Regions from separate parts of the Homo sapiens genome. Here region 1 is linked to region 2. Evidence: promoter capture Hi-C in human tissues and cell types (Jung and others, 2019). All regions are on one chromosome and are shown on one strand. Each heading gives the region's core, a stretch centred on a gene start or on the middle of the fragment in contact. The rest is flanking DNA. Distances are from core to core; before and after follow the strand shown.

What was found. The method cuts DNA at HindIII sites, captures the fragments that hold promoters and counts their contacts. A contact is called where the count stands out against the background at its distance.
Region 1: a contact is called between a fragment that was not itself captured here and the fragment with the promoter of SH3GL2 in region 2, in 1 of the 25 tissues and cell types used here (hippocampus).

Annotation. Positions count from the first base shown.
Region 1 is chr9:17,045,388-17,050,915 of GRCh38, reverse strand. It overlaps LOC105375983 (a long non-coding RNA gene), which reads right to left. Exons shown (of 3, transcript XR_001746628.1): 3 at 366-1,997. Among named protein-coding and RNA genes, the nearest start is that of CNTLN, 87 kb to the left of the region's middle. The HindIII fragment of the contact is 5,698 bases long and covers 1,271-5,528 here.
Region 2 is chr9:17,576,296-17,582,000 of GRCh38, reverse strand. SH3GL2 (SH3 domain containing GRB2 like 2, endophilin A1) reads right to left here and starts at 2,935. Exons shown (of 9, transcript NM_003026.5): 1 at 2,714-2,935. The coding sequence starts at 2,758. RefSeq lists a silencer at 3,925-4,123. The HindIII fragment of the contact is 4,711 bases long and covers 745-5,455 here.

The DNA of each region.
Region 1 (5,528 bases), core at 2,870-5,369, 530 kb after region 2:
AATACTGTACATTTTAATTGGGCCATCCATAGGAGAATATTTACTTAAAGAAATACTCTACATGTGTCTTTGTCTCCTAGAATGAGTGAACTAGATGAAATGAACAATTAGATCTGTGTGTAAAGATAAATCTCAAAATCATAATACTAAATGAAAAATCAAAGTTACAGACTGATGTATACATTACAGTGCCATTTAAGTAAGTTTAAAAACATACAATAGCAACACTTGTTTAGGGATAAATACCTGTGTAGTCAAAGTATGGAAGCACATACTAGAAGTCAGATACATACCAAAATCATGAGCACAGTTGTCTCTGGAGAAGGAGGAAAATAGGACCAGGTACAAAGAGGCTCCAGCTGGATCAGTAATATTTCAGTTTTACAAATATAAATGAAGGGAATATTATAAAATGTTAACATTTATTCATTGTGAGTGGTGGGCACAATGACATTGATGACACTAGTTTCTGAATGTTTAAGTATTAAAAAGTCTTTTTCCTAGTTTTAAAACACTACCCTAAAAATCTAATTCAACATCAATACTAGAAAACAGCCTACTTGCAAGGAAGAAATGAAATCTTATATAAATTATCATCAAAGGTAGTTTAGTTTACTGTATTTTTGCTGCCGACACATCAAGACTCTTTTTCAGTGTATCTAAATCATCAGGTACTTCTTTGTATCTTCATATGACAACTGCAAAATATATGGTTCCAACACTGAAAGTGATAAACTAGGATTTCATCTCTTGTTCCTAGAGCTTCCAAAGATAAAAGGTAAGGAAAAGAATAAGTAGGGAGGAAGCCATGGGCCTCAGAGGCTACAGGGATGTTATAGCCTCCGAGTAGCAATTGCCAAACTATGATCAAGGCCCACTGGCTAAGCAGAGAACCCCTTAGTTCACGTACCCCACTCATTCCGAGTTTCTAGCAGAAAAAAAAAAATGATGATTAGAATAAAATACCACTTTAGAAGCTGATAGGGGGGTGCCACTGATTATATGAACAGTAGGGACTGAATGATATTCAAGCTATCAACAGATGTCTAAAAATCTATATATCAGGAAGTTATAGGGTAAAACTCTGTTGATGAAAATATATACTATCACAGGCTAACTGGGCAAATCACAGCAAATTAAAATGATAAAGATGAAGCAAAACCAATAATAACTTGTAACTAAAAAGCTAGAATATTAGTAGTTGAAAACCACGGAAAACTCCAATCAAAACTGATGATTCTGGCAGGAATTCCTAGTATCTCACTGAGTAAAAGCCAAATTATTGTGTGTCCACTAAACTTATAAATAAAATGCCAAACTAGTCTTCTGCAAACGCTAATAATTTTGATTTATGACTGCCATATAGAATGATGTGAATCCAAGCCACAGCACTCCATGCAAGAAAAATTTTATAACTTTTAAAATGGGGACCTCTAAGTCCCTACTTCCCAGGTTAATGAGACGCCCGAAATCATTACTGGAGAGCAGGCTCACTCTACTTGTACAGTCCAATCAGAGTCTTTGAACTTATACAGAGGGTCTTTGGTCCATCACTGTCACTGCTGAGATGTACACTGTCTAAGGCAGCCTAGTCCATTTTGAATGAAGGCAGGTGTCTCCAGTCCTTCAGGTCTAACATAGACCCCCAAGTCTCATGTTGCTCCTAGGCAGCCTTGCCTTCCAGTCTCATGAAGTGCACCATGCAGGCAACTCATCAGTAAACAAATTTAACCTGAGCTTCTGCTGGGCTCACAAATCCCCAAGACTGTCTCTTTCTCAACCTCTGCCTTCTCACTTTAGTTCAGTCCATTCTGACTTTTCCAACTCCCAACAGCCCTTATTAATCTCTTCAATGGCCCTGAACTTCTACTTACCTGTAGGAGGAGTGAGGTAATATACAGTGTGCTAAGAACCTTGGAATCATATTGGCACTCTGTTTTGGGGGGAGCAGCATGTCAGGGAAGCCGATGCTTTATTCTTCTTGGGTTAGCCTACAGCTGGAGAAAAAAAAATCCCAAAATTACACAAAACCCCAAACCAAAAAATAAAATAAAACAAACAAAAATAATGTGGGGTATTTTCCCTTAATAGCTCATTCTCTTACCATATTTTAGTAATACTTAATTAGAATTTATCAATACGTAGCACTTACTCATAAGCATAAATAAAGGCTTATGGGAATGTTTACTCTTAAAGATTTTTAGAAACAACTTTCTTTTTTGATTAGAGGTTCATGGTGAGATCACTGCTGGGCTGAAGATGATACTTTGAGTAACAATGAATCGGGATGGGAGGTGGTCACAGACACTGCTTGCTTCTTTTTCTTGTCATTTCCCCTCTACCTGCTGAAGATGTTGCTGGCTATTTCCTCCAGAACCTGAGCTAGAATGGCCAGGATCCTGCTCTGCCTTTAGCTCGGGCTACAGACTCCCTCCTTTCCCAAGATGCAAAACCTTCATCCCACTCCCACACTATATCATCTCACGGGCTCCCCATTCTTATCTCCCTCCAACTGTCGGCAGGGTCAGGGCCTCAGGCCACTTCGCAACAGGGCTGTCTGCTTTGAGGACTAAAGAAGCTTCACTAGAAGTAGAGATTTATTAAGGAGTGGTAATCAGCTCCTGCAGGTGGGTGTAAGCCAAACAAAACCCACTGTCAGTTTAATTTCCAAGAAGAGATGGTGGATACATCTTTTTTTATTCATATGGACCAAAGAAATTACTGAGAGTGGCAGAGGGTAGTGTATTAGTCTGTTTTCACATTGCCATGAAGAACTACTTGAGACTGGGTAATTTATGAAGAAAAGAGGTTTAATTGACTCACAGTGCTGCATGGCTGGGAAGGCCTCAGGAAACTTACAATCCTGGCAGAAGGCAAAGGGAAAGCAAGGCACATCTTAATGACAGCAAGAGAGAGACAGCAAAGAAAGGCGCACACTTTTAAACCATCAGATCTCATGAGAACTCCCTCACTATCATGAGAACAGCATGGGAGAACCACCCCCATGATCCAACCACCTCCCACCAGATCCCTCCCCCGATACGTGGGGATTGCAATTTGAGATGAGATTTGGGTGGGGACACAGAACCAAACCATATCAGGTGGACTTAGCAGGAGGTAGATATTGGATTGGTGTAAGGAAGAACTCAAATGAACCCAAGTGAACTCAATGGAGCTAACTGCTTCAGACACTGGAGATGCAGGGAGACCATGTATTACAGACCAGGGAAATTAAAGACTTTTTTTTTTTTTTTTTTTGGCTGCAAAGCACTCATTCTCTTTTCTGGCAATAGCACACTGATTTTCTTTCAGAGAACCATTCTTTCACCTCTCTCTCTTCATAAAATTAACGTGAAACTGTTCCCTGGCTAAAAGAATTAACAGATAATTTGGGGGTGGAGAGCTATTCAGGTCTTCTTATCCACTTCGCCACAGTAATGATTCCAGGATAAGCACATGACCCAAGTTGGTCCAGTCAGATTAAATTCTGAGACTTTTGCTAAAATTATTAAAGGAAAAATTTCTTCCCTCTTATGTAGTTTCTAAACTACTAGGAACAACCCTAAAAAAATAAAGGCCCATCTAAGAATAAAACCAAATAGAGGAAAACAAAAACAAAGAGCTGAAAGAGGAAGATTGATTCCTGATGATACCTTTTAGCCCCTGGATCCAGCTATGCCTGAAACCATTACTGCCAGTGAATTTTTCAGTCATGACAATCAATTGTCTTTTTTTGCTTAAGCCAGTTTGAGTTGCATGCCTTTCTATAATGTAACTGTTTTCTGTCAGTTAGAGAATCTAACTGATACAAGGAATGCCAAAGTGTTAGACAATGAGCTAGATGAGGTGATTCTAAAATTCAGTGAGTTGTTCTAATGATGGCTTTTTGTTATAAAAGTCATACATGTTAATTAAATTTTAAAATTGGAGAAACCAAAGGGGTATAAAGAAGAGAACAAATCACTCAGATTTACATTTCCTTATCCAGCAATAAAATATTGAGGATGAATGGACAAATAGGTAGGTAGACTTAATAATATATTATGAGCATATTCTTATGACCTTGCATATTTGTAGCAATTAATTATCTATGATGGTGTAGCATTCCATTTTATGGATATGGATCTATCTGTTTTGCTATTGTTGAGCATTTGAATTCTTTCCATTTTTCTCTATTACAAATAATGCTTTATTAACCTCTTTGTACATAAATTATTGTGTACATCTCTTATTTCCTTAAGACAAATTCCTGAAATAAGAATTATTGGATAACCACTATAAATAACTTTGAAACTATGAATATGCCTAAATTACTCTACAGGAAAGTTGTATATTCCCTCCTAGTATCAAAGAAGCCAGGCACAAAAAGAGCATTTTTTGTATGATTCCGTTTACATAAAATATTCTCACTAGGCAAATATATAGAGATGGAAAGTAGAAACCCCCCAGGGCTAGGGGGTTGGGAGAAAACGGGGAGTGACTTTTAGTGGGTACAAAAGTTTCTTTTTGAAGCGATAAAAATATTACACACTTAATTGTGGTAATGTTTGAACAATTATGTGAATATCTAAAAACCATTAACTGTCCATTTTAAATGGGTGAATGGTGTGGTAAATTATATCCCAATAAAATCAGTTAAAAATAAAGCTGAGAATGTAAATCATTTTTCTAGCATATGGGTTACAAATATTTGTCTTAGGCCTGATTTTGTTTATGGTGGTTTTTGTGGGGTACAGAAAAACTAAATATTCATGTGGTAAAATCTCTTAATTTTCATGGGCTTTTTTTTCTTTGCATGCTAGGAAAGACCATCCTACCATTATAATCAGAAAAATATCTATATATTCTTCTAGTTCTCTTTGAGTTTGATTTTTTTTTTACATTTAATTCCTTTGGAATGTGTTTTACATATTTTTGTAACTGTTTTGAGGGCTTTTACTGGATGGTGTTCTTAACCTCAGCTTTTCTTTTCCTTTTCTTTTTTTTTTTTTTTAATATCGGAAAAACATGATGATCAGTAGTTTCAGTGCCCCTAATCTAACTTTCTCTTTCTTTGTCTATTTTGTATTCAGACTGGAATATGGCTTTAGCTGCTGTGATAAATCAGGAACCGCCTCCCCCTGACCCCACCCCACCCCTGCATCCTGCAAATTACACTTGGCAAATTATATTGTTGGATATGTTACTTGTTGAGTTGACTTCAGAGCTATAATCTGGAAGTTTGTCTAATTGGACTGATTAGTTTTGGTCTTGTGGTCATGAAAGAACCAAGAAATAAGTCTGAAATATCAGATACATTCATCAGCCAAGATAGGGAGGTGTTGATGGCTTCCCTTTTATGTAACTCCAAATGGCTGCGGCATGTTTGGCTCATATTCTTTTGATTTGTGATTTAATTTTTACAAACTGTAGGAAGAAAATTGCTGCCAATGTTATGGTTTGAAGAGCTGGCTTTTCTATCCAAACACACAGAAAATGTAGTATAATGACTGGGCCCAGATAATGAGGCAGGAGGAGGGAAAGTAGAA
Region 2 (5,705 bases), core at 1,686-4,185:
CACTTATAAACCCAGGCTATAGGCCAGGTGCGGGGGCTCAGCCTGTAATCGAGGCGGGCAGATCACCTGAGGTCAGGAGTTCGAGACCAGCCTGGTTAACATGGCTAAACCCTGTCTCTACTAAAAATACAAAAATTAGCTGAGCGTGGTAGTGCATGCCTATAATCCCAGCTACTCAGGAGGCTGAGGCAGGAGAATCGCCTGAACACAGGAGGCAGAGGTTGCAGTATGCTGAGATCACGCCATTGCACTCCTGCCTGGGCGACAAGAGTCAAACTTTGTCTCAAATGAATAAATAAATAAACAAACAAACAAACCCAGGCTATATTATCCAGCACATCAGTTCTCAAAAGGAAGTAATTCTAGGTCTAAAGCTTCTCTGTAGATAACATCAGGTTCACGGACCTGATGGAAAAAAATGGCTACAAAAGTAGGACAGGACTATTTCTCTAATTTTTTTGTCACATGCAAACATTAACATGGGCTTTACATACTCTCCTAAATATACATATGCACAGAACAGTCACCTGTGCCTTAGACTTTCTAAGAGTGTGCTACACTAAATTATGGATAAGAGACTACGTGCTGCTTCACCTTTCAAATAAAAGGCTTTTCAGTAAAAGGAAGACAATGACGCAGTGATTCTGCATTTGGATTCGGTGTGATAAACATTAACCGTATCGCATCACATGCCGACCTTCTCCAACCTTTTAAGTTCTTTCCTAACGCAGTTTAAATTATTTTTTCTACACTTTAGGGCGACACAGAACTTCAAGATTTAGCGGAAATGGAGCGCTCTATTTTTTAAGTTGGAAAAACTAAAAGGTCTAGCTTGGGTAACTTCTTCACAGCATAAGGGATAGTATTTTATACTAATAAAAATATCCTTTATGTCAATAACTATAATTTATTGAACACTTTATACGTGTGTTCTACACACTCGTTTCTCTTCACCTCAACCCTGAAGAGACAACGGAAATTATCATCACTTCAGCATGGACAGGTTCAGAAGTTAAATACTCTCTCAAGGTCAGAAGCAGCAGAGGCAGGATTCAAACCTTAGCCTTTCCCACTCCAAAGCCAAGACTCTTAATTGCCTTTGAGGGCACTAAGCTTTGCAAAAGAAATCTTTAGAATCCAAGTGGAAAAAAGATGTGTTGGTAAACGCAGTGCTGAGATATGCTATAGAGAAGTGACCAGTAGAGCAATCAAAAAGGTTAGTAATATCGAAGAAGTCCTGCCACAGAATTCCTGGGCAGCACATATGCTTGGTTCTGTAAACCTGAAAGAACTTGCAGTATAAAGTTATTAGAAGCCTTCCAAACTACATCAACAAACAAATCACTTACTTTCATAAACATGTCTGGCAGAGAGGTCACAGATAACTCCAATTATAATAGAAAAGCAAAAATAATTACATTAAGAAACATTTTTACAGAAATAGTCTTACTTTTCTTGATTTCCTAAGTTGACAGGTATAATTGATTCTATAAAGGCAAGAATGTGTGATGAAGATGATGCAGATGCGTGCAAACACACACACGACGGGAATTACATGCTGCATCTGTCACCCTAAGTTAACCAAGGTTCTGTAAAACACAACCCTCACCTTTTCTGGATGTGGTTCATAACAAGGCTGCCACTGTGGTAGCCTAGGAAAAACCTCACTACTTCCGAGAAATTATGAGAAAGCTCGTTAATTAAGGCTAACCTATGAAAAACTATTTAACACCAAATCATGAAAAACATTTCGCGGTAAGTCATCAAAATCCTTAAAGATCCCATAAATTTGAACCTATTTCAGAAGGATAAAAAAGTAGTAATCACACACATTATGTAAGAAATAGGTCACAGCGTAAGTATTCGCTTACTTGCCCCTATGTAAAATTCTTTGAGTCCAATGATTTTAATTATTAGAATCTAAATTAATCAGTTTTATTACAGTCACAGCTTATTAACCCCATAAAGAAAAATGGGCACATCCAAGATGCCAAAGATTTATTAAAAACAATTTAAAATACATGATGATTTTAAGTCTTCAACAATTTGGTTGTTTTAGGGAAATATTTAAGACCCGCAGACTGTTTGTCATGCCCTGGCCTCAAAGGAGTTTCACGACCGAGTTCTCCAGGTAAAAGTTAATGTATGCGGGTCCCTAAAGGAAGACCCCAGCCTTCCATTCCCCTGGAGCCTGCGGGCGGCGGGGAAGGAGGGTTCTGACAACAGGGTAAGGGAGAGGAGCGCAAACCGCCGGCCTCCGCCCCGCCACCCCCAGTGCGGCCACCGCTCATGCCAACACATCCCGGGAAAGCCGGGTGCACCGACTCCGCAAGGTCACCCGTGAAGAGGCGACTTTACATAATCTCCCACCGCGCCGCCAAGGCACCTGCGCGCCGCGGCAGCAGTGCAGCCGCGGTCCCCTTCCTGCAGCACGGGCGCGAGATGATGCGGGGGCGGCGAGCAGCGCTACCAGGCAGGACGCCGGGGACCCGCGGGAAGGCAGCGCGCACCAAGCCGGGGGCGGGGGACCGAGGGTGGACGCCCAGACCGGGGATGCCCCGAGCCGCCGCCTTGGCTTGCGAGGCGGGGCGCGGCCGGCGCGGGCGAGGCTCGGTGCCGAACTCCCCAAGCTGCCGCCGGACGGCCAGCGCCGAGCGCGCCCCTCGCAGCTTCGCCCCGGACTGCCCCGGGACGCACCTGCCGCGCGCCTTACCTGAGTGGCTTTATGGAACTGCTTCTTGAGGCCGGCCACCGACATGGTGCAGGAGGCCGCGCTGGCGGCTGCTGTGCGGGAGGGAGGAGGCGGAGGGGGACTGGAGGGCCGAGCGGGGCGGCGCGCTCCCCTGGCCGCCTCTGGTCGTGCCGCCGCCGGGGCTATGGGCGCGAGGGCGCGGAGCCTAGCGGGACACGGGCTCTTGCGGAGAAACACTCTGACGTCAAGGGCGGGTGATGCGGCCTCTTAAAGGGGACGCGGGAAGCCCCGCCCCAAGCGCGGGAACGCCCAGGCAGGTGCTGTGGCGCGCGGTACCTGGATGCTGGCGCCAACTGCGGGGATGTGGCTCAGCGGCACCCGCTGGCGGATCCCTAGTCAGCGGGCCGAGGACGTCCTCCTGTCCCGGGGTTGGTGTTCCTGCCCCCGGGGGCTGCGGACGGGTCGCTGCAGATTGGCAGCCCAGGCACCCGCAGGACTCAGGTGACTTGCTGGGCTTCCAGGTAGCCGCGGCGGCGCTGCCTGCAGACGGCCCTCCTGCCCTTTGAGCCTGGCGTCTCTGCGCCGCAGCCTGAAAAAGACTGGCCTTCTATCTGGGCTAATGAATAAGTCATTGCTCCTTCTATGCCTTGCCCTGACTGGTGGGTCACAGAAAACATTTCTCTGCCCTGGTTTCAATATCCCTTAAGCCCATCTTACCTTAGGGAAAGTCACACACGCGTTTTCCCCCTTGTCTGATACAATTTAATGACTTAAAAAGAAGAACAGGAACCCTTAAGCCTGGACGGATAAATAGAATTGAAGTCTTACTACAAAACTAGCGTTCAATCCTCTGGTTACAGAAATGAAAAAGCCCAAATGTGATCTTGTTGTTATGCTTGTGGATTTAGGGTTTCCGGTCCGATAAAAATCAAAATATAATGTGAAAAAGCATGATACTAAGTTATATACAGATGCTTCATATGTAACCAAGGAGGTATGGCTGGCTAAAGTGAAACTAATAGATGACTTGGGAGCAGAGCAGCACTAAATGCCTTCTGTGCTCTGGTACTTAACCAAGTCTGGTTTTTCTAGGACTGAGGAGGTGGTCAGAAAGAACTTAGACGCTGTCCCCGTATGTGGACCAAAGTGATAAGAAGGAGAAGCCAAGATGGGAGAAATTGCCAAGGATGTGTAGAGACTGCAAGGCCAAATGGGAGTCCTAGAAATACTTTTTCTGTCTCCGCAACTCCTGCAGCCTGATAGGAGCCACAGACCCATCCCCACTCTTCTAGGCACTGCGGCTTGGGCACAGGGTGAACACCTGCTACAAAAGGGTCCTCCATCCGTAGAGCTACCAGTCATGGTCCTTCTTGATAATGTGAACTGACACACACAAAGGCAGAGTCAAGCAGTGGTGGGCACTGGAGCAGTAGAGCGCATGGACTAGGGACGCAGGCTGCAAAGGGAGGCAGATGAAAGGAGCTATTCTCCAGTGTGGTAGCCCTTACCACTGTTCATATACCTTTCCCTACATGGCAGAATTGCACTTTCCAAACCTCTTGTTAAGTGGAGGCATGGTTACAAGTTTTGACTAGAGGTTTAAGAGGAAAAGTGACTGTCACTTCTGCAGCAGCAATATGAGATGTATGAGATGCCGCAAAGCTTTCTTTTCCTCGGCCGCAATATTCTAGAAAGCTGTGGTCTGTCAGCCAGTATCCAGAGTGAGACTAAAGCAGTGCAGAGTCCCCACCTGACGTTCAATGGGCATGTAGCATCAGTGAGAAACCTGAGTAATTTTAATCCACTGAGGCTCCGGTTGTTAGGAATAAACTTTTTTCTCTATGTTTCCAATTTTTAAAAAGGCTACCCATTACTTGCATAATAGAAAAAAAAGTATTTTATAGTTAATTTTTACTACCAGGTCCCTGATCTGAACAATAAAGCATTTTCATAAGACAGGGCTTTGTTGAAGCTGCCAAAAGATAGAGCAATTGATCTACAAAGTGGAAGGGCCTGGGATGGATAGGAGCTCTGCTCTCTAACAGTGAAAGGTGTGAAATGGGGGCCTGAATTGCCTCCTTGGAACTTTGAATACTTAACTGAGCCCTACATTATAAAAAAGGCAGTTTCTATCTTTCCCTGGTTCTTCATCCACCAACCTGGAAGTCTCATGCTGCTTAACTTCAAAGAAACTACCTTGGGAGAAAAAAACTACTTAAGGGCATTACATTAAATCCTTTGGAAACCATTGATTTAGTCGCCCAGGCATCCTCTGCACCTCATCTTATATGGTTTGGCTGTGTCCCCACCCAAATCTCATCTTGAATTGTAACTCTCACAATTCCCACGTGTCGTGGGAGGAACCCAGTGGGAGTGATTGAATTATGGGGGTGGGTCTTTCCTACACTGTTCTCGTGGTAGTGAATGAGTCTTACAAGATCTGATGGTTTTAAAAACAGGAGTGTCTAGTTCAACCATTGTGGAAGTCAGTGTGGCGATTCCTCAGGGATCTAGAACTAGAAATACCATTTGACCCAGCCATCCCATTACTGGGTATATACCCAAAGGACTATAAATCATGCTGCTATAAAGACACATGCACACGTATGTTTATTGCGGCATTATTCACAATAGCAAAGACTTGGAACCAACCCAAATGTCCAACAATGATAGACTGGATTAAGAAAATGTGGCACATATACACCATGGAATACTATGCAGCCATAAAAAATGATGAGTTCATGTCCTTTGTAGGGACATGGATGAAATTGGAAATCATCATTCTCAGTAAACTATCGCAAGAACAAAAAACCAAACACCGCATATTCTCACTCATAGGTGGGAATTGAACAATGAGATCACATGGACACAGGAAGGGGAACATCACACTCTGGGGACTGTTGTGGGGTGGGGGGAGGGGGGAGGGATAGCACTGGGAGATAAACCTAATGCTAGATGACGAGTTAATGGGTGCAGCACACCAGCATGGCACATGTATACATATGTAACTAAC